Regions from separate parts of the Homo sapiens genome. Here all the other regions are linked to region 1. The links are contacts of gene promoters, found by promoter capture Hi-C in blood cells and fetal thymus (Javierre and others, 2016). All regions are on one chromosome and are shown on one strand. The core of a region is centred on a gene start or on the middle of the fragment in contact, and the rest is flanking DNA. Distances in the headings are between cores, read along the strand shown.

The links. Contacts are between HindIII fragments. The CHiCAGO score rates a contact against its expected background, and 5 or more counts as called.
Region 2: a contact is called between a fragment that was not itself captured here and the fragment with the promoter of ITIH5 in region 1, in 1 of 17 cell types (total CD8 T cells). The highest score is 5.8, in total CD8 T cells.
Region 3: a contact is called between a fragment that was not itself captured here and the fragment with the promoter of ITIH5 in region 1, in 1 of 17 cell types (neutrophils). The highest score is 5.4, in neutrophils.
Region 4: a contact is called between a fragment that was not itself captured here and the fragment with the promoter of ITIH5 in region 1, in 2 of 17 cell types (naive CD8 T cells and naive CD4 T cells). The highest score is 5.8, in naive CD8 T cells.

Annotation. Positions count from the first base shown.
Region 1 is chr10:7,663,258-7,670,148 of GRCh38, reverse strand. It overlaps ITIH5 (inter-alpha-trypsin inhibitor heavy chain 5), which reads left to right and starts at 3,183. Exons shown (of 14, transcript NM_030569.7): 1 at 3,183-3,346. The coding sequence starts at 3,257. The HindIII fragment of the contact is 13,140 bases long and covers 1-6,891 here.
Region 2 is chr10:6,882,185-6,889,701 of GRCh38, reverse strand. All of the region lies in intron 3 of LOC105376387 (a long non-coding RNA gene), which reads left to right. Among named protein-coding and RNA genes, the nearest start is that of LINC00707, 110 kb to the right of the region's middle. The HindIII fragment of the contact is 270 bases long and covers 4,788-5,057 here.
Region 3 is chr10:6,848,810-6,855,450 of GRCh38, reverse strand. All of the region lies in intron 3 of LOC105376387 (a long non-coding RNA gene), which reads left to right. Among named protein-coding and RNA genes, the nearest start is that of LINC00707, 73 kb to the right of the region's middle. The HindIII fragment of the contact is 2,111 bases long and covers 2,066-4,176 here.
Region 4 is chr10:6,896,930-6,904,176 of GRCh38, reverse strand. All of the region lies in intron 3 of LOC105376387 (a long non-coding RNA gene), which reads left to right. Among named protein-coding and RNA genes, the nearest start is that of LINC00707, 120 kb to the right of the region's middle. The HindIII fragment of the contact is 754 bases long and covers 1,583-2,336 here.

The sequences.
Region 1 (6,891 bases), core at 1,934-4,433:
CAACTCGTTAATCTCGTTAAGTCATGGTTGTTTTGACCATGATTTTGGGCCCATCTATTGGTAGTCTCCAGTAGGAGACCAGGATAAAGGGATAACTCTCACAAGTGTGATTCGACAATTCTGGAATACTTTGGCCCATCATTCAGTTACTTGAGGGAATGATTTCCTAGAAGTGGCGTGGACAGAGCAGCATCTCTGGCCCAGGAGAAACAGCTCCTGTTCATTCTTGGACTCTGAGTCCCTTGTCGCTGAGCTCTGCCTCTAGATCCTGTCCGTGAACCCCGGGGGCCTTCCCTGTGATTTGTCACTCGTGGCACATGGTCCTGGTGAATGAATTGAGCTAGACATCGTGCAGGGTCTTTTCTAGCTTTGAGATTTTATGTGTTCAGTAACTGGAAATTCAGCTCCTCCTGGAGGTAAAATGAGAAACATGGAATCAAAGGACAAATGTATGTGGGGACACCTTGGCCCTTATTTATAAGGCTGATATAAATCACTGTCTTTGCTTGTTGACAGTCTTGGAAAACTTTCACTAGGTCTTATTTTTATCACACCTACCTAGATTTTAAAGATCATCATAGAGATACACAGGTGTCACATAGAATACTGAACTATTACAGCTTGAAAATAATAGGAAGTTCAGAAACTCTGTCAAGTCATACAGCTAGGTAGCGGTCAAGTTTGCACTATAGCCCAGCCCCACCTCCCTGGCACAGCCTGGCTCTACCATCCACACTCATTCCTCCCATCTACTAATCTCATTCATCAAAAGGTCCTTAAGTGCTAACAATATATTTAGCACAGTTCTAGAAGTTGGGGGAGAGGCTTGTCCTCAAAGAACAGATCCAGTTGGAGAAACTGGCTTTATATTAAACAAACAACACATTAGAACCACAGTCTAGGGTAGAATCAGAGGGTCCTCCCAGATGAAAATAAAACTCACTTTTCTTAACATTAGACTGCTGTAAAACCCAGTTAGTATGAATTTGGGAAAAAAAAAGAGATCAGATATAAAGGCAAAAATAGTTTAATATGGGCCCTTTCAGCATTTCAAGTTAGGGATGGCAGGGAAGGAAAGACGATGGAGTCTCTGTTCTGTTGCAATCATGGGTTGAAATAATGGCCGCTGTATGGTTCCCTATTGCAAATAAACTGGCTTTGTCCAATTCAACTTCTGGTTCACAAATAGTTACTTTCCTCTGGAGGGAAAAATAACCGGCTACAGTTGTTTCTTATTGGTTGCATGCTGACTAGTGGTTAGGCTATTAAAGGATTAACTGCTGATGACAATAATTTTCCTTTCATTTATTTCACAGTAGCAAGGTGTTTGTTTTTAACCTCTCCTAATTCATTAAACAAAGAGCATTTCAACAAGAATAGATATTTTCGAGGATCTCACCACAAACTAACCTACCCACTGCTTTTATTTTTCATGTTTTTTTTTTCTAGTTATGTCCCTCCATATGTATTTCTACCTAATTGCAATCATACTGTTGATACGATTTGGTGATGTGATTTTCTCTTTAGATTACACTGTCAACATTCTCCATGTTTCTGGAGACGTCGCACGATTATTTAATGGCCCCATAGTAACCTGCATGGAATAGTATTCTCTATTCCATGGTCCGAAGTTAGCCCCTTCCCTGTTCTTGGTCCTTAAAGGGTCTGTCACTCACCTCACCTATTTAGATGAAATTATCACAGAGACATAAAAAACATCCTTTGCAACATGAAATAAACAAGTAGCCCCAACTGCAATGTGTATCACCAGATAAAAAAGACGCACTCAGCCTGTAGAAGGCCAGGTGTGGACGGCTGGTGGGTAAGAATTCTTCCAATGGCAGGATGGAAGTATCACCAATAGTTTGTAACTAAGATACATACTGGCACTCACTTACATGATTAATAACCAGAAACTCAGAAATACTACACGCTACCAAGATACTTCCCTCGTCTCCTCTGTTTCCTTAGAACATAAAGGCTGGCAGCCTTGCTAGTCCCTCCTGCGCTAGACTGCAGGTAGTATCCTTTGTCCTGCCTATTAAGCGTCCCTGGCCAATGCAGAGGGGACGATCTGCCGGCTTCAGGCTGGCAGGTGCGGGGTGGGCTGTGTGCTGAGGACCAGGCTGGCCTTCTCGCGTCCTCTGGCGACAGAAATTAAGCAAGTCCGCAAAGAAGCATATTGCACCTTGAGGGAGAGGAAGAAAGAGTTGCGGGGGCGCGTGGGGTAGGGCCCGGGAGGCAGTGGGTGTTGGCAAGAAACGGAGTAGGAGGCTCTACAGAGGAGACTGGTCCTTGGTTAAGTGTCACAGCCGCAGGATGGGAGGGTGTGGGAGGGGTCCGTGGGGCCAACACAGGTGGCCCCTGCTGTGCGCGGCGAGGCAGGCTTGGAATGCCTTCTCCCCGAACAGAGCTAGCCCAGCACTGGGGGCTGGAGGCGCGGCTCTGGTGGGACTGAGGCCGGGAAGCGGCGCCGGGCGGGGTGGGGACTGGGGAGGAGGCGGGGCTGGTGTGGGGGCCACAGGGAGGCGGGCCGGGTTTAAGGGGGTGGCTGTAGGTGGGGTCTGGGAAGTTGGCCTCGGTGGGGACAGGGACAGGAGAGGTGGGGCCGGGACTGGGGAGGTGGGGGGAAATGGGGGCGTGGAGAAACGGAGCTTGGGGTTGGGGACCTGGGGAAGCTGGGTCCTGACTGGGGACAGGGAGGCGAGGCCGGGCTTGGGGGGTGTCCAGGGAGGCAGGGTGTGGGAAGGTCTGGGGCGGGGAAGTGGGGTCTGGGCTGGGGTGGGAGAGTTGGAGTCCAGAAGGGGACCGCGGGGTGGAAGGGGTCCGGGCTGGGACCGGGGTAGGCGGAGTCCAGGAGGGGACGCAGGGTGGGCGGGGTCCGGGCTGGGTCCGTGGGGTGGGCGGGGTCCGGGCTGGGACGCGGGGTGGGCGGGGTCCGGGCTGGGTCCGTGGGGTGGGCGGGGTCCGGGCTGGGTCCGTGGGGTGGGCGGAGTCCAGGAGGGGACCGCAGGGTGGGCGGGGTCCGGGCTGGGTCCGTGGGGTGGGCGGGGTCCGGGCTGGGTCCGTGGGGTGGGCGGGGTCCGGGCTGGGACCGCGGGGTGGGCGGGGTCCGGGCTGGGTCCGTGGGGTGGGCGGGGTCCGGGCTGGGACCGCGGGGTGGGCGGCCCCGAGAGCGTCCCGCAGTGGCTGGAGCCCTGGGCGCTGCAAAGCGTGTCCCGCCGGGTCCCCGAGCGTCCCGCGCCCTCGCCCCGCCATGCTCCTGCTGCTGGGGCTGTGCCTGGGGCTGTCCCTGTGTGTGGGGTCGCAGGAAGAGGCGCAGAGCTGGGGCCACTCTTCGGAGCAGGTAAGTGGAGCCGAGGGGAGCCGGGTCCCGGGCGCGGCCGCCCCCTTCCCTCCGCCGGCCCGGCCGCGGAGCTTCTGCCCGGGCCCCCTTCGACCGTCTCCCAGGCCCCCACCAGAGGCCCAGGGGTCCCTCTCTGTGGGTCACTCGTGCGTCACCTCTGTGTGAGCCGCGGTGCCTGATCTGGCCTGAGGCTTCCTGCAGAACTGTGCCCGGGACTTGTCCTGCGGAGCCGAGTTTTTCTTCTTGGCTCCTGTTGATTGCGCAGATTTCTGTTCGTCGTTGTTAATTTCTGAGGTAGCTCCAAAAGTTATTATAATTACAAGGTTTTTTCCTTATCACGCGTGGGGGGCAGTCTGCTGTTATCATCATTCCCAGTTGATCCAGGGAGAAAGGCAATATGAGAGGAGTTCTAGACTCCTGGGAGCCTCAGCTTTTCCCACCTGAAAACCGGGAGAACACGACTTTCCCATTTAGCGACTACCTACCGGTGGTTTAGCATTTAAAGGTGGCACCGAGAGCCAAAGCGTCTGAGTTCCTCGAGTTGCTGGTCTGTGCGTTTGTCAGGATTTGTGTTTCAAATGTCTTAACCTCGCAGGCGAATAAAACCTGCAAATATGAAATGTCAATAAAATGATGAATAGAGCATTTTTGTCTTTAAAAAGTATGAAGCGGGTTCACACAAATAGCATTGAGAGCTAATGTGCAACATGGCCCTGTCACAAAGTAGAAGTGCTTTCACACACATGCCATTTAAATATTTAAGCCGTTTAGCTTCCAGCGTGTTTGTGCACGGTGGGAGGAAGATACAAGTAGGCGGACCTTTTCTCCCTTTTCCAGCCCCTGTTTTGAAGAGCAGTTTTGAAGCCCAACTGCCTAAATATGAAGACAGTTATCTTCATGTTCTCTGTCCTGTGAATGTGCTTAACAGTAAAGTGGTAGTAATGATACTTCCTTCTAGGGGGGGAGTAGCTAATAAAATCCCAGGAGGCATCGTAGTGATGTTGGAAAAGTGCAGGCTTTGGATGCAGAGACAGGCTGGGCTTTAGTTGTGTGTTCCGGGCAAGCCCTTTAATCTCTCAGAGCCTTCATGTCCTCGTTGGTCAGGGCAGGGAATGCGGCTCTTTTTGAGCAAACTTGCAAGGACTCAGCTAATTTGTGTTAAGCACCTGGTATACAGTGGACGCTCAATAACTGGGAGATGTTTTAGTAGATGGCTGAAGGCATGGGCTTGGTACCAGGATGTCTGGGACCACTTGATTCTTGATTCTGTCACTTATCAGCTCTGGGACCCTGATCAAGTGCCTTTCGGCCTTATATTCCTCTTCTGTGAAATGTGGAGAAATGATAGGGTTGTGAGGACTGAATGCATTATGACACCCAAGTGCTTAAAACACTGTCAGCACTTAATGCTGGCCATGGTCTTAGACTCATGCTGCTGACATGCTGAGTGAAGGAATTTAGGGTAAAGATCTTGAAACTTTTTTGGGGGTGTGGAGACAGGACAGTGTGGGATGGACTGAAACAAAGATTCTGTGTCTGAACTAGGAAGGCTGTTTAAACTCTAGCATATACCAAGTTCAAGTAGGCTTCACAGTCTATGGACTTGCTGTCATAAAAAAACATGGCTTGACCTCTTTTAGTGATTTCATGCTGTCTTCAACCCAGCACAATATTTATTTATCTTGAAAATGACTAAATCAGGAAAAAAAATCCAAGGTATAAAGTTCTATGAACTTGCAATTTTACCTTTTATCCCTAATCCGTTCTTTTTTATATTTAGTTTTTGTGATATAGGGTTTGAGAGCATAGGCTTTAGCACCAGAATTCTGGGTTCAAATCTTGGCTCTGCACTTACTGAGGAGTTACTTAACGTTTGTGAGCCTCTATCTCTGTATGGGGATGATGCAATTACTTAGGATTTTGAAAAGTGAAACAATTAATATACTTAAATCTTAGAACAGAACCTGGGAATGTAATGAGCACTCTATTCTCAATCATTATGGTCTTTAAAATTGTATGTAAACTTAATTTGAAAAATGTAAGTCTATGCAAATCTTATGCAAATTTTAATATAGCTGAATATGACTATTAACTTGCATTGCAGTTATTTGTCATTCACCTGTAATTGGAAATATACCAGTAACACCTTAGATTCAAGTTCCTTCACCTCTCACCCTTCACCCCATCTGTAGACAGTGGGTACTCAGTAACCCATAGTGGAATGACTCCTAAAAGCAGTGGTTTTCACCCTTGGGGTGGAAAAAGTCACTTGGGGTGTTCATTAAACATTCAGCTTCCTGAGTTCCACTTCCATTGGTTTAGATCCATTGGGTTTGGGATGGGGCGCAGATGATTCTGATGCAGGTGGTCCATGGAACACATTTTAGTTTTTTTTTTTTTTTTGAGACGGAATCTCGCTGTGTCGCCCAGGCTGGAGTGCAGTGGCAGGCTCTCTGCTCTCTGCAACCTCTGGCTCCTGGGTTCAAGTGATTCTCATGCCTCAGCCTCCCAAGCAGATGGGATTACAGGTGCACTCCACCATGCCTGGCTAATTTTTGTATTTTTAATAGAGACAAAAATACATCACGTTGGCCAGGCTGGTCTCAAACTCCTGAGCTCAAGTGATCCACCTGCCCTGGCCTCCCAAAGTGCTGGGATTACAGGCATAAGCCACTGTGCCTAGCCGCACACTTTGAATAGTAGTATTTTTAAAGGATATTTTGGGAAATTAGTATTTAAAAGAAAATCCCTTGTATAAAAACTGTCTGCTACAGACTTATCTGTTTTGTTAGCTTAAATTTATATGGTGTCTTTAAAGATAGAGTTATATTCCCATTATTATCAAAGCAGTTTTAGATTGACAAAATAGTAAAAGCCACCAGTTATTGAGTATCTGTAATGTCCCAATGTCTCAGGGAGTTTGCTAGGAGCTTTATGTGAAAATAATAAGAGGCAATAATGTATTCTGGTTGAGTACTCCATGTGGTGCCGGACTGCCTGGGCTCATATCTGGACCCCATCACTTACTGCCTGTGTGTACCTGGGCAAGTCACTTAACCTCTCTGGGTCTCAGTTTCATCATCTGCAATATAGAGTTGTTAATAATTCCTACTACATAGGCAGGGGTGGATCTAGGCTTTGGGAGGAGAGTAAAGTTTATACAATTTGCAGGACCCTCTTGAAGGAAAAAAGTATCAAATTATAACTACAAAATTAGGTGCTAAAATGACTATTTATTTAGAAAGATAAAGAAAGCACAACAAATTACACATTTTGACAATCTGACAGGCACCACAAACATCACGCATTTTTAGGGGCTTGCACAAGTGAGGTGTCCTGGAGCTTATGTTTTATTAGCATGTAAATAATAATTTAATTTTTATAAAAATAACAGTTCTGCTTTTATGGTTGTTCGAGGATTAAATGAGTTAATTCAGGCAAAGCATTTGCATATAGTAAACACTTAGGTAATATTAGCTGCTTTTACTATTTATGCACAGCCTAGTTAAGTCTCTGACTACCGCTGTAATGTCTCAATGTACTTA
Region 2 (7,517 bases), core at 3,673-6,172, 780 kb after region 1:
AGTTAAAATGACATGACAACTAAGGGCAGTCTGTGATCCGGAATAAGCTCCTTTTGCTGAAAAGGACGCTAATGAACGAGCTGGTGAAACACGAAAGCACAAACACTAACTTCCTGACTGTGGTGGCTGTGTTGTTGATTTTGTCCTTGTTTGTAGGAAATACACACTGAAGTTTTCAGGGGATGAAGCACTAGATTTGCATCATGTTGGAAACTCTCTCAACGGTTCAAGAAAAGCTCTTTGTACCGGAGTTGCAGCTTTTCTATAAGTTTGAGATTGTTTCAGAATGAAACAAATTTTGAGTTATCAGACCCATTTTACAGGGTCCCAGGGTGCTTAATTCACCAGCCAGTATGTGAGACAGCCAGGCCAAGTTTCTTGTTTAATTGACTTTTTAAAATTAATTAATTAATTAGAGACAGCGTGTCACTCTGCTGCACAGGCTGGAGTGCTGCGGTGCGATCACAGCTCACTGCAGCCTCGAACTCCTGGGCTCATGTGATCCACCCTCCTCAGCCTCCCAAAATGCTGGGATTCCAACCATGAGCCACTGTGCCTGATCTCAATAACTTTTATAATGCAACATTGTCTCAATATTAGAGTGGTGCAAAGAAAGTAAGTAATTCTACCAGGAGACAGACAAACCTATGTCTAAAACTCCACTCTGTTTAGTAGCTTTATGCCCTGACCACATGCTTCATCTTTCTCATCTGTAGTTATCTAAGGACACATTCAGTGCTAACGTTCTATGATTCTATACTGGGAAAAATCAGTGATAACCAACCAATAATTTTGGCATGGAAGTTGGGGGAAACATTTTTGCTTTCATTACATTTCCTCCCAGGTCCATAAATCAGAGAAGCTGTTACATTACAGAGCAGTGTATCTCCTATTATTGAAATCTAAGAGTGGTCTGAGGGTGGAGTTGGGAATGACGGCTTAAATTATTCATCATGACAGAAATAATTATATTCATACATGAGACAGAAACCCAAATGCCTTTTAGGAGGCCAACTTGAGAAATGTTCCCCAGTGATACAGAAAGTAATAAGATGGGGCCCAGGCCCTATTCACAAGCTTTGATTTTTCGACACTTGCAAAGTGCCCTGTGCTGACAAATGTCTGATTAACAAAATTAAGAAGAGATTTGGCTGCATTCTTAATCCCTCTCCTGGGCCTTTCTGTTTCTGGATTTCTAGGTTGATTATCTTTTCAGGTCAGACTGTTCTCCCTCTGTCTCATTCTTTATCATTTGTAGTTGAGTCAATATGAAGGTTTTCTGCCACAAGAGGCCTAGGGTAGAATAACTATCTCCTTCGCAAGAGGTTCCGCTTCACCAACAATTACACCCCATTATGTCTCAGAAAGGCTGTGGATATCTTGTCACCTTTCCCTTCAAAAGTTCATATGTTTCTTCAAAACAGAAATATAAGCTATTGTATGAAAAAAGTGGCAAGAATGTTTTCATTCAAACCTGGATATGACTTGTGTAGACCCTAGGGCTCTTTTTGTTGCTGTTTGAGTTCACTGGTGTATATTTTGGAGGTTGGGGTGATGAGGGTGGATAGGGAGTATCTTGGGGAACAATCAGTCTGTATGTACACAAAGCCATGGTTATGATATTGAAACTCTAGAGATAGGTATGATTATTAGTGTTATTATTGTTGTTATTTCATATTTGAGGACGATGAAACTGAGATTCTGATGTCTTCCCCTAAAAGTCAGACAGGCAGTAGAATTGAAACTTAAACATAGGTTTTTCAACTCAAAAATGCCAACCACTAATATGAGCATTTACTAAGAATTGAATTGGTTTATTAAGTATAAACATTGGACTATAAATGACTTGGCTAGTAACTCTGACAAGCAATGAATCATACAAACCATTATTATCAAGGTTAGTTAAAGACTTAATAATATTTTAAGGTTAAATAATTTATTACTAAAATAATATATATTATTATATAAGATTACTATATATCATCAAATACTATATATTATATATGTGTTTTAATTATCTTCTTTCCAGTTAATCCAGTTGAACAAAAATACGTTTACCTTTCTGACCTGGTGGGAAAACATCTGGCATAGCCCCAAATGATATTTTGGCTTTGACAGGTTCTAAAGAAAGGAGAAAAGAGTAAAACAGTGAACAATTACATACATTACAAAAATTTCCTTTAAAAAAAGCTTTATAACAAATAAAGATGAAAACATAAAAAAAAAAAAAATTAGAGATTTGAAGACATTAAATAGAACCAAGGACAAAGCAAAGCAAAAATGGGTGATGTCCTCATTTTTAGCTTAACATTTAAAAAGATATGTATATTAATACTCAGGCCAAAAAGAAGGGAAAAATCAGCAGGACCTGAATGTGTGGGTTGATGGGGGATGGGGGCTCTCTTGAGGGAACCTGTTCACAATGTTGCATTCATTTTTTTGGCTCTGCATTGCAGCCCCAGGGAACTTCTCACCTTTGATTTTTCCACTGCAAAGTGAGGAGTTGAACTAAAGTCTCGCAAAGGTCCCTAGAGCTTAATGTTCTACAGCAAGGGTGTCCCTACTTTTGGCTTCCCTGGGCCACATTGGAAGAAGAAGAATTGTCTTGGGTCACACACAAAATATACTGACACTAACGATAGTTGATGAGCTAAAAAGCAAAACCACCAAAAAATCTCAGAATGTTTTAAGAAAGTTTAGGAATTTGAATTGGGCTGCATTCAAAGCTGTCCCGCACAGCATGTGTCCTGCAGGCTGCGGGTTGGACAAGCTTGTTCTAGAGCTCTATGGTTTTATAATTGAATAAAGTCAATTTCATGAAAAACTAGAAAGTGAAAATTCATGACAGAAAAGATCAATTGTTTCCAAATCTCCAATAGCCAAAAATAATGAAAACAACAGCCACAAATCACTGCACACCAGGCCTAGCTCTGAGTGGTTTATATCTTTTAAGACAGCAATCCCCAACCTTTCTGGCACCAGGGACCAGTCTCATGAAAGGTAATATTTCCACGGATCGGGATGGGGGGATGGTTTTAGGATGAAACTGTTTCACCTCAGGTCATCAGGCAATAGATTCTCATAAGGAGCGTGCAACTGAGATCCCTGGCATGCACAGTTCACAATAGGGTTTGCGCTCCTATGACAATCTAATACCACCGCTGATCTGACAGGAGGTGGAGCTCAGGCGGTAATGCTTGCTCACCAACCGCTCATCTCCTACTGTGTGGCCCTGTTCCTAACAGGCCACAGACCAGTACCAGTCCATGGCATGGGGTTTGGGGACCCCTGTTTTACAGCATTCCTTCTGTATAAGCATCTTTAGGAGGACGGCACTAAGAAGTCATTTCCAGCTTTCAGAGGAGAAGGTTTGACACAGAGGTCACAGAGCATGCCTAAGATCCTGTCACTGGTGAGGGCCTGGGTGGACTCAATTCAAAGGCCAAGCAAATTTCCTTCAAAGGTAAAAGGCAAACTGGAAGGTGTTAGAGGAGACCTGAAGAATTGGATGCTGAAAACAGTTTAAGGGAAAGTGGTAGGTTTAAGCGTCGGGAGACCTATTATAATTATGGCAAATTAATTAATTTGCCTTGTACTGAATCCACATCGCTCATAAGATCTCTCACCTCAGTGCCTTGGTTTAGTAGTAATAATGAGAACAACAACAAATGCCAACAGTAATAGCAGCTGACGTACATTGAGCACTAACTGTATGCAATAATATGCAAGGAACTGTTAAACATTCACCTCGGCTGGGCGCAGTGGCTCGTTCCTATAATCCCAGCACTTTGGCAGGCAGAAGTGAGCAGATCATCTGAGGTCAGGAGTTCAAGACCAGCCTGGCCAACATGGTGAAACCCTGTCGCTATGAAAAATACAAAAATTAGCCAGGCGTGGTGCCATGCACCTGTAATCTTAGCTACTTGGGAGGCTGAGGCAGGAGAATCACTTGAACCTAGGATATGGAGGTTGCAGTGAGCCGAGATGATGCCACTGCACTCCAGCCTGGGCGACAGAGCGAGACCCTGTCTCAACAACAACAACAAAAAAAAACAAACTAACTAAGAAAACATTTATCTCATAGAGACCTTGCAAAACACCAGCAGATACACTTTGCTTCCTGTTTTGTGGATAGATAAGTTGCAGTTTGAAGAGTTTAAATCATTTCCTCCAGGTGACATACAGTAACTGGTAGAGCCGCAAATTGATGAGGGTTCTGTTGGATTCTGAAGCCATGTGTTCCTCTCTCTCCCCACTGCCTCAGATGCCATTTTAATGCCTTCACACTGCACTGGCACCATCAGTGGCAGCCAGCTACTGTCTAGAGTGTTCAATGAACAGAAACATCCTATTTCCTAACCATGTTAGAAAAAATGAGAGCTAGAAAAAAGATGCAAATGAAAACATCAACTATCATAAATTGACCTTGTAGCATGGATCTCAACCAAAGCTGGAATATAAGAGTCCCCATGGAAGTTGACTAAAACAGAAGCAAAAGTGAAAGTGCACATGGCTGACACTCTCCCCAGAATGCAGACATTATCTCTTTATCTTCAAGGAGAATATCCAGTTGTCCCAGCACTATTTGTTAAAAAATCGATTCTTGTACCTTCATCAAAGATCAACTGACCATAAATATAAGAGATTACTTCTGGACTTTCAATATTATTTCATCGTCTACATGTCTGTCCTTATGCCAGAACAATACTGATTACTGTAGTTTGTTGTTAAGTTTTGATATTGTGAAGTGTGTGTGTCTTCTTGGGCATGTATAATTTGGAAAAGCTTCGCTAGAATTCTTATACATAGCCAAGGGGTGAGAACCACTGGTCCCAGAAGGCTTTGTTCGGGTGACATCACTAAGGAGATAGGAGATAAGTTTCAGAATAAGCATTGTTTATTTCTGGAAGTGACTCTGGACTCATGAAGAACCTGAGCTTTCCAATATGTCTCCAAAGCTGCTGCTTCAGTGACCAGGACAATAACAGCATTTAACTTCAAAGAAGTGGCTTTCTTTGGGCAAAAGTCCTCTGTTTATTGCTGTTAATGTCAAAGCTTCCATTAAAACATAAAGCTTTTCAAAGTCTAGGTCATAAGGTCTTAACTTGGAGTAAGAGGCTTATTGCAAACAATAATATTTGCATGTATGTGCAAATTCTGGGAGAGGATCTAAAATTTTTTATAAAACTCTCGAAGGGGTTCATGATGCAAAGCAAGAAGCCAAATCCTGTGGATAAATCTGCTCTTTGCAAACCCTATCAGAAGAATCCGAATCCTAACCCAGATGATGGTGGACACTTCCGAGTGACTTGCTGACGACTGTTTCTTAGGCTTCTTCAGAATGGGGGAGTTAGTTGTTTCTCTTGGGGAGAAGTGAGCACTGACTGCCAATGATGCTGAACACTAGGGGTTCCGTCTAGGGCTTGTTGCTTGCTGCACAGAAAGGCAATCACTGAGATGAATATTTCCAGGAAAGAAAGGCTTTGTTCAGGTGACATCACTAAGGAGATAGGAGATGAGTTTCAAATCCATCTTCCCAACCAATCAAAACTTGGGTTTATCTAGCGAGGAAGGAATGTAGCTATGTGTGGGAATACAGAGATTAGGGAGGATAAGGAGGAGGAGTTGGCCAGCAGGAAGCAGGTGGTCAATTAGGCAGTCATGGTGGATGAGGGATCTGGCAACTCATTGTCTGGATGTGGTTATTTGGTAAGTTTCAGTTCCTTGATACTATCTGGGAGGCCTGAAAGAACTCAGATAAGGGCCAGGCTTGGTGGCTCACACCTGTAATCCCAGCACTTTGGGAGGCTGAGGCAGGTGGATATCCTGAGGTCAGGAGTTTGAGACCAGCCTGGCCAACATGATGAAACCCCATCTCTACTAAAAATGCAAAAACTAGCAGGGTGTGGTGGCACATGCCTGTAATCCTAGCTACTTGGGAGGCTGAGGCATGAGAATCACTTGAACCCTGGAGGCGGAGGTTGTAGTGAACAGAGATCATACCACTGCACTTCAGCCTGAGTGACAGAGTGAGACTTCATTTAAAAAAAAAAAAAAAAAAAAAAAAAAACCCAGAGAAGACAAATGTAAGTTTCAACCTTTAATTTTAAGGGGGTGAATTTCTGTGTTTATTCAAAAAACCCACAAACATCAGTTCTATAGGGAAATTGGGCTGGTATCACCAACAACCCTGAGAAACTGTACACTGTGTGTACCTATATTCTGATCATCTGCGAGAGGACAGAGCTCTGGAAGTTTCTTCCCATTCCCAAGTTCTGTGTCCAGCAGCGACCCTGGAGATTTTCAGAAAAGGAAATAGTATATGTAATAGGCTTACTTTCCAGTGAAAACCTTATACCTGCCATTCTTGCCACCCAAGGTGAACCATCCACTCTCCCAGATGCTTCCAGATTTCCTAATTTATGAAATCCTTCTAACACTGCATTTATGTGATGCTGGGCAGTCAATTTTAACTGCATACAATCCAGTCAAAAGCTCCTATCATACGAGGATAATCACCTAGATGTTTGAAACCTTTGTAAACTGTGGGCCCAATCTTTCTTCCCAGCTTTTTTCATGTCCATTCTTCAGGAAGCAAAGATTCTTCTCTTGACAACTCCTTTGTTCTCATGAATATTACAGAAACATTCTTGGTCCTGTCATTTGACAAAGAAACATAAATATTTAGATATTGCGCAGAAGTGGTTGACTGGAAGTATAGACAAATGATCAGGTTTGGGATGTCATAGTTTATTCATTCAGGAATAAAATAGAGACAAAACGACTCCACGGTAGATAGTGTGAAGTGGAAAAGGGTATTTAGGCAGGATTCTTCAGCAGATTGCATGCTGCCAACCTTGCCTTTTTGGATTGTTGAGAAAACAGTCATATAGAGAAACCATAGATTTCAATGGTGAAGGGGAAGAGAATCAAAAATTGTTATACTTTTATGTCCAGCACATTGTATAAGATCTGGATTTCTTCTTTGTTTCCTGAGGCCAGGACCCAACTGTCTCTTCTAAACTCGTGAACTTTTTTTTTTTTTTTGAGATGGAGTCTCACTCTGTTGCCCAGGCTGGAGTGCACTGGCGCAATCTCGGCTCACTGCTAGCTCCACCTCCCGGGTTCACGCCATTCTCCTGCCTCAGCCTCCTGAGTAGCTGGGACTACAGGAGCCTGCCACCATGCCTGGCTAATTTTTTTTTTTTTTGGTGGGGGGGTATTTTTTAGCCAGGATGGTCTCGATCTCCTGACCTTGTGATCTGCCTGCCTCAGCCTCCCAAAATGCTGGGATTACAGGCATGAGCCACCGCACCTGGCCAAAACTCATGAACTCTTAAAGCAACCATGTGTTAATGAGGCCAGTATGAGATGGGAGTAGGCACTTCATCTTCATCTCATCAAATAAGCAACACATCATTGACTCCATAAGATCTGCAGCTTGATTGAAGCTTCTATGGCAGTGACCCAGATATTCTGGTTCATAAAAATACTAAATCCTTTAATGAAACACACAG
Region 3 (6,641 bases), core at 1,872-4,371, 810 kb after region 1:
AGGTTAAAAAAGCAAAAACAGACAAGTGGGACTATATGAAACCAAAAAGCTTCTGTGCAGCAAAGAAAACAATCAGCAGAGCAAAAGGCATCCTATGGAATTGGAGAGAATATTTGCAAGTCATATATATAAGAGACTAATATCCAAAATATGTGAGGAACCGCTACAACTTAATAGCAAAAAACCAAATAACCCAGTTAAAGACTAGGCAAAGGATTTGGACAAACATTTCTCCAAAAAAGACATACAAATGGCCACCAGTCTATGAAAAGGTGCTCAGCATCACTAATCAGCAGGGGAAGGCAAATCAAAAGCACAGTGGGATATTATCTCACACCTGTCAGGATAACCATTATTTAAACAAAAAACAAAAAGAGACAATAACAAATATTAGCAAGGAAGTGGAGAAATTGAAAGGCTGGTACACTCTTGGTGGGAATGTAAATTGGTAGGTACAGCCATTATGAAAAAAAGATATGGAGGCTCCTCAAAAAATTTAAAATAGAACTCCCATATGATCCAGCAACCCCACTTCTGGGTATTTATTCAAAATAATGGAAATACACTGTGTGTGTGTGTGTGTGTGTGTGTGTGTGTGTGTGTGTGTGTGTGTGATGTTATTCAGCCTTAAGAAAAAAGGAAATTCTGTCATGTAGCTACAACATAGATGAAACTTGAGGACATTATATTAAGTGAAATAAGCCAGTCAGAGGACAAATACTACATGATTCTACTTATATGAAGTAGTTAAAGTAACCAAACTCTTAGAAGCAGAAAATAGCATGGTGGTTGCCAGGGACTGGGGGATAGGCCGAATGGGGAGTTGCTGTTTAATGGGTATAGAATTTTGATCATGAATGATGAAAAAGTTCTAGAGATTTGCTGTAGAACAGTGCACACATGGTTAACAATACTATGTTGTATACTTGAATATTTGTTGAGGGTAGAACTCATGTTGCATGTTTTTTACCATAATAGAGACAAAATCATGCTGTAGCATTTATTGATGGTAAAATGTTTACAATATATTTGTAAATTCTGAAAAACAAATTTATGCATGATATATGTAACTTCAAAAAATACATGCAGAAAAACACATAGAAAATCAACTGTAGGGATAACACCAAACTGTTACTTGTGCTTATCTCTGGGGTATCAGTAATATTAGTTTTCTTTTTTTGAATTTTTATACTTTCCAAAATTAAACATTTGATTTTGTTTCTGAGTTAGTGTTTTAGTTGGTTTTCTTTAGAAATAAAGATGCATTTGCTCAGAATAAGAAATATATTTTCTGAAGCTATTTTTTTTTTTTTCCGAGACGGAGTTTCGCTCTTTTTGCCCAAGCTGGAGCAGTGGTGCGATGTCAGCTCACTGCAACCTCCACCTCCCAGGTTCAAGCAATTCTCCTGCCTCAGCCTCCTGAGTAGCTGGGATTACAGGCGTACATCATCTCACCCAGCTAAGTTTTGTATTTTTAGTAGAGACGGGGTTTCCCCGTGTTGGCCAGGCTGGTCTCAAATGCCTGACCTCAGGTCATGTGCCTACCTCGGCCTTCCAAAGTGCTGGGATTGCAGGCATGAGCCACTGTGCCCGGCCTTTGGAGCTATTTCAAAGTTCTCTTGGATAATGGAAATAGAAAAAACAACAACAACAAAGTAGGATTTTATTCATTCATTTCATCCTACATATATTTACTAAACAGTGTGCCATGCTTTTTCCCTCCCTGTTGGGACATTTTCTGAGAGGTATACTGTCACTTACTGTGTGACTTCAGGTAAGCCATTTGGCCAACGATGAGCTTCACTTCCTGATATTGAAAATGGGGATAATAATAATATGCTCCACCTACTCAATCAGGATTTTGAAGGTTTAATAATGTTAGCAAATACAAAGGCAGCACATTAATTGCAAAACACTGTCATTTTTATGACTATTATCTTTACTATTATATTATCAATTTATTGTATTTTCTCAGATCTTTCAATGTGTGAGGCTGAAACTGCATTTATCAAAACACACTCGGCCTTCCCAGGATCTCCCTAATCTTCCAACAGTATCCCAAGCTTCTTCCTCTCTTCTCTGCAGAGCCAGTCCCAGCTCAACAACCATGAGCTAACGTCCTAAATCTTCTCGCAGAGGATAGTCCAGTAGATTCCATGACTTGCATTAAACTCATTTCCCTTTTTATTTTCCAAACTTGTGAATTTTCTCTTTTTAATAGTTTTACCCTTAGAGTCTTTAAAATTTATATTATTTTCCACGTCATCCCCGTTCTCTGCCCATTCCCACCTTACCATATAACTGACCTGTCGAAGTGGCCTGAGTTCCCTTCAGCATCTCCATACTGCATGGACTTTTCAGGGCAACAGTAGCATGAGATACTCACGAGCAACAAAACGGCTACAGTTTGATATTTTGAGTGCATTCAGAATAACCAAGAATGCATTCAAACCCTACTGCCATATAAAAGGAGAATCCCTTTTCACCTACAAGGAAAGGGATTCCCCTTTTAGATGACAGTAGGGTTTGAGGTGAGTGATAACAGGATATAGCATGGTTAGTAAGCGAAATTATCCCAATAAACATTAGTCTGCTTATCTTCCGTGCATCACATTTATTATTTTATTTTTGTGTGTGTACATTTTTGTACCCAGCAAGATCTTAGTGTTATGGTTGAATTTTGTAGTTTGTAGACACTCCATGTCTCAAAAAAAAAAAAAAAAATATATATATATATATATATATATATATTTGAGATGGAGTCTCGCTCTGTGGCCCAGGCTGAGTGCAGTGAGGCTGTCTCAGCTCACTGCAACCTCCACCTCCCGGGATCAAGGAATTCTCCTGCCTCAGCCTCCTGAGTAGCTGGGAATACAGGAACACACCACCACACCTGACAAATTTTGTATTTTTAGTAGAGACGGGATTTCACCATGTTGGCCAGGTTGATCTCAAACTCCTGACATTAAGTGATCTGCCCACCTTGGCCCCCAAAGTGCTCTGATTACAGCGTGAGCCACCGTCCCCAGCCCCTGTATGTTTTTCTGTCTCACCCTGTGTGTCCCTTCTCCTCTGGTGAATATTAGGTTTTATTCTTTGCATTTTCACCAGAATAAAAGTAAAAGAGTTACTGTGCTTCTCCCAGACTGCCAATCTATTTATTTGCGTCTTACTTTCCTCAAAAGGGAGTTGGTAAGTGATTTTTACAAAAAGGGGCTCATTTATATTTTATATGCATGGTAGATAAAATAAAGATAAAAGAGAAAACAGAACTCACATGGAAAGAGAGGGGGAAGAGGAAGATTAGGGGAGAACATTACTAAAAATGAGCACGAAATTGTCTGAATTTCTTGTTACCCAGTATAATAGAGAAATAAGATAATGCTCTATGCAGTTTGTGTGATAAAAGAAACCATATTGACTTGCTATAAGAGACAATTTTATATTCTATCAAGAAATCCTGTAGACTCTTATTAGGGACATAACATAAACCATGTCCTCAGAACTATTTTCCCAGAAAACATATGCTTTGTAAATTATGTTTATTATCTTACCGGAAGATTTTAAAAATAATTTCATAGAACAAAGAGAGAGTGGAAATGAACCATATTGTTTTGGGGAATGGGACTATCTTAAAATTTTTCTTCCTTTTGCTTTTCTGTATTTTTCCAATTTGTCTATAATGAGTATGAATTACTCATATACGGAAAAAATAAACTTTACTTAAAAATAATAAATAACTGCACTTCACGAAGGTTTTTCTTATACCAGCCTTTGGTAAGAGCTGAGAGCATGGTCCTGAATCTTTGTTCAGGGAAAGGGCTTCTATGAGGACCAAATCATTTTAAACCAAGGAGTTTACATTCTCATGCTCTGCTTGACACAAGTATCTAATGACAAAGTTCAACTTGTTCCTTGGACTGTCTCAACTACCATTTATCTCAACATTTTTGGACATGAGTTAAGTAGCTGTCAATCGGAAGTTTAACTCTCAACTTACTACCAAAAAGCTGAGATTCTTTCTTAGAAGAAAAGGTGATCAAAAAATGCTAAACCTTAGAGAGTCAAGAAGCAATATCAACATGATGCCATGAAATCTAAGAGCTGCTGATTTATGGGATTTTTGGAAAGAGGCTGCTCCATCTTCACATAACAGTAGCAGCATGGAAGGAAGCTTGCTTCAGGGAGGGAGAAATTTTTTTTTTTTAATTAAAGGAAGGTTTGAATTGACCCCAAGCCTGGGTGAGTACTCAGTTGAGTCAGCATAGTTCTGCACCAAGAAGCTTGGAAAAGACTTCTTTGGTCTGTGCAGCTTAAAGGACAACATGCATTTTAAATCAAGTATGTAACTACTTGTTAATAATCTTGGTAAATTTTTATACTTTCCAAAATTAAACATTTGATTTTTCTCTGAGTTAGTATTTTAGTTTTTTTACTTTCGAAATGAAGATGAATGTGTTTGGAATAAGAAATATGTTTTCTGGAGCTATTTCAAAGTTCTCTTGGATAATAGAAAACAACAACAACAACAAAGTGGGATTTTATTCGCTTATTTTACCCTGCAAATTTTTACTGAACAGTGTGCCATACTTTTTTCCTAGGCTACAAACCTGTACAGCATGTGATTCTACTGAATATACGGGCAATTGTTAACACAATGGTAGGTATTTGTGTATCTAAACATACCTAAACATCGAAAAGTAGAGTAGAGGCCCAGTGTGGTGGCTTATGCCTGGAATGCCAGCACTGCGGGAGGCCAAAGTGAGAGAATGGCTTGAAACCAGGTGTTTGAGACCAGGCTGGGCAAGATAGCAAGACCCTATCTCTATAAATTTTTTAAAAAAATATTAGCCAGGTGCAGTGGCTTGGGCCTTTATTTCTAGCTACTCAGGAGGCTGAGGCAGGAGGATCACTTAAGCCCAGGGGCCCATGATTGCACACTGCATTCCAGCCTGAATGACAGCCTGCAGCTTACTTTTTTTTTTAATAACAGTCTGTTTCAAAGAGCAGAAGTTTTTAATTTTGATGAAGTCCAGTTAATCAATTGCTTCTTTTATGATTTTTTCTTTTTTCGGTGGCAAATTTCTGTTTTATTTTGTCTGGAAATAGGTATAGCTCTCATTCCTAAAAATATTCTCACTGAGGATATAAATCTGGTTGACAGTTATCATGTTCTTTCAGCATATTATGCCATTGCCTTCCAACTCTCAGTGCTGCTGTTGAGAAATCAGATGACACGCTAAATGTCTAAAAATGATCAGCAGAATTTTTCTTTTGTGTCTTAAGATTTATTTGCCAAGGTCTCAATAATTTTCTTCTGTATTTTCTTCTAGAGGTTTTATAGTTGTAGGTCTTATATTTAGGTGATCTGTTTCAAGTTAATTTTATATAGTGTAAATTTCACTTTTTTCATATAAATTTTATTTTTGGCATATGGATGAACAATTGTTCTGGTATAATTTGTTGAAATGGCTATCTTTTGCCCATTAAATGGCACCATTGTCAAAAAATAACTGACCATGTATGTGTAGGTCTATTTCTGGAATCTCTATTCAGATCCATTGAGCTAGAAAGTCTCTTCTTTTACCAATACCTTCCTTGATTTCTGTGCTTTTCTGTAAGTCTTGAAATTAGGTACAACAAGTTCTCTGATTTTTTTTTTCTTCAAAACTGTTTTCGGTGTTTTAAGTTCTTTGCTTTGTTGTATAAACTTTAGGATCAACTCATAAATTTTAACCCCAAAAAAAAGCCCTTCTAAGAATTTTATTTGTATTATGTGAGTCTATGGATCTTTTGCGGGAGCACTGATGTATTAACAACCTTGGGGCTTTCCACTCAGGGACACCATACATCCTCTACATTTATTGGATTTCTTTCATTTTTATCACCAATGTTTCACAGCTTTCATCATACAAATCTTCCACATCTTTTGTTAGACTCATCCCTAAGTTTTTGCTGCTCTTTCAAACAGTAATATTTTAAAATTTCAATGACCAATTGTTCATTGCTCACATAAATACAATCAATTTTGTATATACAGTTATTATTTTTAATCTGACAATTTATCCCATACTTTGCTAGATTCTCTGTAGTTTATTACCACCTTTCTAAATATTCTGTCTAGGTAACCCAGAGAGTCAAAGTAAGAATTATTCATTTGGTCAACTGATTAGATTATTTCTGTGCTCTTGGATTCTGTTAATTTCACACTCTATAGGCTGGATGTTCTGCCATCATCAATTTGCATTCCAAGATTTTGTGTGTGTATGTCTCAAAAATATGTTAAGGCAGTTTTAACAATTCTTTAGAAACTCAGGGCCTGGCGCAGTGGCTCACACCTGTAATCCCAGCACTTTGGGAGGCTACGGTGGGAGGATCTCTTGGGCCAAGGAGTATGAAACCAGCCTAGGCAACATGACAAACCCTGTCTCTACAAAAAATATAAAAATTAGCCAGGCATGGTGGTGTGCACTTTTAGTCCCAGCTATTCAGGAGGCTGAGGTGGGAGGACCATTGGAGCCCAGAAGGTTGAAGCTGCAGTGAGCTGTGATCATGCCACTGCACTCCAGCCTGGGCAACAGAGTAAAACCCTGTCTCAAATAAAGAAAAGAAAAGAGAAAAAAAAAGAAACTCAATTGCAT
Region 4 (7,247 bases), core at 710-3,209, 760 kb after region 1:
TGTTGGGAAAGATTGTAACGCAGGGCCTTGCAGATTTTGTCCTGTCCAGTTTTCTTATTAGCTTGAAATAACTTAATTTTTTTTCTTTGGAATATCCTTTCCTTTCTGCTTTCCTCATTGTAATACATAAAACAAACGCAAGTTCTTACCCAACAGAGTCCTGTAGAAGCATTTGTGAGAAAAGGAGAGATTTTGAGTAATGTGCGGCCTGTGCAAGATTCTCACTGAATTGGACTGTCCTAAATAGGAAGCTTGAATGAGAGATTTCCTTGTTAGGTTTTCTCCTTACTATCACTACCCACAGCATATTTTTTTAGATATATTTGCAATATTAATTGAGTACCTACTGTAAACCTTGCATTTTACATAATTTGTGTAAATTATTCCTCACTATAACCTTGCAAATATACCTTATTGACCCATTTTACAGATGAGCAACGAGGTTTACGGAGTGAATTTCCCACATTCATAGAACTGGAATTTGAACTTTGGTCCAGTTGAATTACAAAGTTTGCCCTCTTTCCAATATATCCTCCTGTCATTTTCTTGGGTAAGATGTGTTTTCCTGCTAGTTAATTCTGTATCAACATTTGAACATATAGCCAAGGGCACAAAGAGAGTTTTTAGGATTTCTAGTGGAGTTCTTTGTAAAAACACTGTTCTTTTTTTTTTTTTTTTTTTGACAGAGTCTTGCTCTGTCGCCCAGGCTGGAGTGTGAAGGCGTGATCTTGGCTCACTGCAACGTCCACCTCCTGGGTTTAAGCATTTCTCCTGCCTCAGCCTCCTGAGTAGCTTGGATTATAGGCACTCACCATCACGCCTGGGTAATTTTTTGTTTTGTTTTGTTTTGTTTTTGAGACGGAGTCTTGCTCTGTCGCCCAGGCTAGAGTGCAGTGGCGCAAACTCGGCTCACTGCAAGCTCTGCCTCCCAGGTTCACGCCATTCTCCCGCCTCAGCCTCCTGAGCAGCTGGGATTACAGGGACCTGCCAGCATGCCCGGCTAAGTTTTTTGTATCTTTAGTAGAGACGGGGTTTCACCATGTTAGCCAGGATGGTCTCCAACTCCTGACTTTGTGATTCGCCTGCCTCAGCCTCCCAAAGTGCTGGGATTACAGGCGTGAGCCACCATGACCAGCCAATTTTTGTATTTTTAGTAGAGACAAGGTTTCACCATGTTGGCCAGGCTGGTCTTAAACTCCTGACCTCAAGTGATCCACCCTCTTGGCCTCCCAAAGTGCTGTGATTACAGGCATGAGCCATTGCATCTGGCCAAAAACACTGTTCTTTTACATTTATTTTGTACATCTATTGAGATTTTTACAAGTTGATTTTACAAATGTGCAACCAATCTCTTTGCTGCTTTCTCTGTTCTGATTTTCTTGTAGCTGAGCCCTATATCCTAGAGTCTTCTCTTTTCAACACTAAAACAAAAATATTAAGAGTTTGCCCAATATAATCCATAATTAGCTGAGATAGCTACTGTTGAAACTGCTTACTGCCCATCTTTACCCAGAACCAAATTGGGAAAAGCATTTCCTTTTCAAGGAGATCCATAAACTATGAAGAAATATATTGCTAAGCTTCTTATTTAGCAGTTTTGTAAATTATAATTAATAATATTGTTTAACAATAATATTTTGGTAACAATGGTTTACACAACGCTAGATATCTTTGCAAAATATAGGGAGATGTTCTTTAAGACTTTATTATAAGAATCGGTAAGTGTGATGAATTCATTACTGCCTCATCTTTTTGCCCATCCTATATTTAAAACACTGCAGTTTATGATGTAGAATATTAAAATCTATTATGAATACATGATTAATACATATAGAAAAACCCTTCTAACAGCTGTGTGCTGTTTTATTGTTATGATTGTCTTTCCAATGTGGCATTAATAAAATTGATGCCATAGTACAGCCCCTCAAATTGCTTGTTACTGGTAATGAGGGAATAATTTGAAAGTAAATAGTCTCTGGCAAAACTAAAGATGGCTATTTATTTGAGACTTGATTAATTAATAATTATTCATTAACTGATGCTAAATGCCTAATGTGTTGTCTTTGCCTCTTGGCCAAAAGATACTGGTGTTTTATTTTGGTGCCAATGCTAATTGTTAATTATTGCTCTGGGAGCTGGAATTTGACTGAGAAACAAAAGTTTGCTAGTGACTTGCTTTCCTCAAGTCCACGGAGGAGGGAAAAAAAAAAAAAAGCCTCTAGACCCTTGAGTCTCACTTCTAAGCCTGAGCTTTATGCCTAAAATTTGCAGCCCTGAGGGAAAGGTTTGGAAAGCTGCAGGAAAACCCCACAAGACAAGCATTCATAGCTGAAGCTTTGGGGACCATTGTTGCAAACTGAGTCCTAAATCAACTGAGGTCATTTAAACCGAATGCACTACCAGCCTGTTTCAATGTGGAATTTCAGCAAGGTGTTGTTAATATCCCCTTAAGTGGCTTTGTTGTGATTTAACATTTCGACTACTGGGACCTAATTGGACCTTAGGTCTTAGCAGTTCTGAACAAAGAGTGACATTTTCAAATAATTTGGGAAAATACATTAATTTCCTTAACTTTTTTTATTGTTTGTGGGTAGGGCCAAGGAAGACTACATCTCTATAAAAAAGCACACAGATCCTTCCAATTTATTGCTTGACAGTTCGCATAAGTTTAGACATTTGCATGGTTGATGGTAGATGATAGAATGCCTTGAAAGTTTTTTCCAGGGTGCAAAGTTTATATAATTTGTTTTACATTTCATTGCAATAGGCAGTGTTTCCATTGGCTGCAATTTTTTAAGGCTAGACATGCACAACTTCTGATAGCAACAGGAGGCAGCCAAATGCCCAGGCAGACAGGGGTGGGTCCCCAGTGAAACCCCACCTTCAAGCCAAAAAACAGCCTGAAGGCTGGAAGACCAGACTGCTGGTCCTGGATGAAACCCACAACCCAGTGTGAGAACTTCTGTTCCTGTTTGCCCCCACTTTCCTGGTTGATTCTTTCTGAATAATGCCTTCTAACCAATCAAATGTTGCCTTTTCCAATACTATCTGCGGCCTGCCCCCTCCCCTATTCTGAGGCCATAAACCCCCGGACTCAGCCACACTGGGGGGACTTTCCTGCCTTCAGTTAGGGGGATCATCCCCATGTCTCCTCTCCATGGAAGGCTGTTTCATCACTCAGTAAAACTCCCTGCCTTGCTCACTCTTCAATTGTCATGTATCCTCATTCTTCTTGGATGCTGGACAAGAGCTCGGGACCCACCAAGTGCAGGTACCCAGAAAGGCTGTCACACTGGCCTTTTGCCCTCACTGGCAGAGGGCAGCCACCCCACACAGTAGGGCCAGGGACCAGCTGAGCTGCTAACATGCTGCCGTCCATCAGGCTGTGGATAGAGGCACTAAAAGAGCTAATTAGCACACACACACCCCCTCTGGGGCTTCAGGGTCACAAGCACCCTCTCAAGGTGACATGCCTGGTCTGGTCACAGGCCCTGTATGGAGCTTGCTCCTGTGTTGGTGCTTGGAGTGGCCGGCCAGATCCCAAACTTGCTTGCTCACATGCTCCCTCCTGCAAGGGGCTGAGTGCAGCAGGCCAAGTAGATGGGATGCCCCTGCTGCGAGTCCAGCAAAGGGGCTGAGAAAAATCCTGTGTCACTTCCACAATGTATAAAGCTTTTTAAATTTAATGAATATCATTCTTACACGTCATTAAAAAATTAACATGAAGCCCTTTGTGGCCACTTCAGTGAATTCTCTGGCATTCTTTTGATGGAGTGACTTTCTAGTTAAGATAGAATTACACCTCCCTAATATGGGAAGGAAACACAAGGAGCATTTGTTTAATTCTTTGATTCAGGGCTAGATCCAGGTTAATTGAACAGTGAGTTGTCTATGCTATTCTGAAAGGTTTCCAGGAATGAATACTTCATCTCTTGGTAGCCTGTTCCAGTGCTGAATCAGAAAGTTCTTTACCAATGTCTTATTTGACTTCTTGCTGCTCCAAAAGCTTTGCTCTCTGTGGAAATTGAGAATGGTTCGGAAACAATCTATTTATAATAATATTTCAGATTCTTAATGATAGCTATTAAATTTCTCTTCAACTTTCTTCCCACCAAGGTAATTAACCGAATTCTTTTAACCTTTCCTTCTAAGACCTCACGTGGCTGTTAGCAGCCATGCGTCATTTACACATCAATTCTCAGTTCTAGTGCTCAAATTATTTCAAGGATACTTGCTGGGTATTTGGCCATGAGGCATTTGAAAAGGTCTCAAGGAATTCCAACAAGAGTATTTTATTGCGGTGAATGTTTAAGTGCTGTTATCCACCGCGTGCTGAGCTCTGCCAAGGACCACCTTATACCAGCTGAAGGTGTCAGGCTCTTATATTTTATGGTAGATAGTTGTTCCCTTCATGGAGTTTAAAGTATCGTGGAGGAGTGTACGTTCCCAGGAAATGAAATCATTTCGCCAAATTCACTTGACTGTCATCATTAATGTTGGTTGCTGTCCCTGCAGCAGCTTTCTTTCAAAGTTGATTTATCAAGAAGAGTCCATAGGTTGAGAAAAGGCATAAAATAATTCATATCATGAGGGCCTGAAGTAGTAGGAAGTCAGATGGCAATGAAGGAAGCCAAAAAGGGCTCCCCACCTGGGTCTAGTATCTGTCCATGACAGAGACTAAAGTCCAAGCCTCTGTCACACCCCAGTGCTTACCTTAATAATGTTCCACACAGCACCTCGCCTCTCAGGCTACCCTTTACTTTACCTTTTAAGAACAATAATTGCTATAACAACATACACTTCTAATTTTGTCTTTACAAAAACATTACGTGTGCATTTGAAATAAAGGGAAACATGCAAATAAACTGGAGAAAGAGAAAGAAAACCTCATCACAGTCCTATCATCTAGGTAAAACTACCAATAATAGCTCCTGGCATTTCCTGGCCTTTTTATTGCATTTGAACAAAAGTAAGAGTGTATGATACAGTTTTATAAATGTGTCTTTTAAACATTTAATCAGATATCATGAATGTATTTTGATATCAACAGATATAATTTCCCATCCTTTTTAGTGACTGCATGACACTTTATTGCATGAATATAATTTACTTAACCAAGCTCCTATTTTGGGATAGTTTATTTTCAATACTTTCAATGATAACATTTAGACAAGCACTCTCATAGCTAAGCCTTTGTACATTTTAATTGTTTACTTAGAATTTAGTCCTAGGAAGGAATGAAAAAAAAATTATTAAACAGAATACATCCATTGTTAAGGATTTGGCTAAGTGTTGCACCCTTCTCTAATAGAAGGTTTTCACTCATTCATTTTCCTACCTGATGTGTATGAAAGCATCCTGTCCTCACGTCCTCACATCTTAAATTTTTTGTCAGGTTGATAGTTGCAAAATGATATACTATTTTTGTTTTTTAAAATCAATTTGATGAAATTATTATGTACATACAGTATAAAAAATACACTCACTTTACAGGTATGTTCCGCAAGAGTTAACAAACGTACACGCAATGTAACCACGAGCCAATAAAGATATAGAATATTTTTGTCCTTCTAAAAAGTTACCCCATGTCGTTTTGTCCTAGTCCCAGACAATCACTAATTTGTTTGCTGTCACTATAGAGGCCTTTTGATAATTCTTTACTTTTATATATACAGAGTCATACAACATGTACTCTTTTGAGTCTGTATTCATTTACTCTGCATAACATTTTTGACACACATCCATGTTGAGAGCATCAGTAGTTATTTCTTTTTATTACTGGATAATATTGCATTACACAGATATACGCAATTTGCCTACCACTCATTTGCAAATGGACATTTAGGTTGTTCTGAGTTTTAGCCTTAAAAGTAAGTTGCAACGAACATCTGTATACAAGTGATTTTTTGTGGACATGTGTTTTTATTTCCCTTAGATAAATACCTAGGAAAGGAATTATTGAATTGTGCAGTAAATGCATGTTTAATTTCACAAGAAGATGCCAAAGTCGTAACAGTTTATACATCCAAAGCAATCTATGAGCGGTCCAGTTGTTCCATATCTTTGTCAACACTTGCTATCATCAGCCTTTTAAGTTCTAGCCCACCCAGTGGGTGTGTAGTCGTATCTCAATGTGATTCAAATTTGCATTTGCTGATGGCTAGTGATATTGGGCATCTTTTCACGCACTTACTGGCCATTCATATGTCTTCTTTCATGAAGTGCCAGTTCAAATCCTGCCCACTTTTTAACTGGATTATCATTGAGTTAGTGGAATCCTTTATAAATAGTGGATGTAAATCCCTTGTCAGATGTATATTGCTAATATTTTCTTCTAGTCTGTGGCTTGCCTTGTCATTTTGTTGATGGTATCTATGATATCTTCCAAAGACCAGAAGGTTTTAATTTTGATGGAGTCCAAAGTATTATTTTTTTTCTATTATAGTTCTTGCTCTTTTTGTGTTTTGAGAAATCTTTGTCTATTACAAGGTTGTAAATGTGATCACTTACATTTTCTCTTTGAAGTTTTCTAGTATTAGCCAATACATTATCAACTGTGATTCATTTTGAAATAACTTTGTGAATGGTGTGAAGTATGAGTTGAAATTCATTTTCATTTTTTTTTGTTTTAGCACCACTTATTAAAGGTTATCCTTCCCCTATTACATTAGCTTGGTTTCTTAGACAGAAAAGCCAACTAACTATATATGTATGGTTTTATTTCTGGAGTCTGTTTTTAGTTCCAAAATAACATGCCCATTATTAAGTTAATATCACATTTTCTTAATTACCGTATTTTTTGGTACTTCTTGAAGTCAGGTAATATGAGTCCTCCAACATTACTCTCCTTTTTCAAAATTATTTTGGGTATTCTACATTCTTTGCATTTGCATTTTAGAATTAGTTTGTCGTTTTTAAGGGAAGCCTGTAAGAAATTCATTAAGATGGCTTTGAATATATAGATCAATTTAGAGATAACTGATATTTTAATAATACTGAGTCTTTCAATCCATGAGGATTGATGTGGTTTGGCGCTGTGTCCCCACCCAAATCTTATCTCAAATTGTAATCCCCACACGTGGAGGGAGAGACCTGGTGGGAGGTGATTGGATCATGGGGGCGGTTTCTCCTATGCTATTCTCATGATAGTGAGTGAGTTCTCACAGGATCTGATGGTTTTATAAATGGGATTTTCTCCTGTGCTATCTGTCTTTCTCTCCTGCCACCATGTAAGAGGTGCCTGCTTC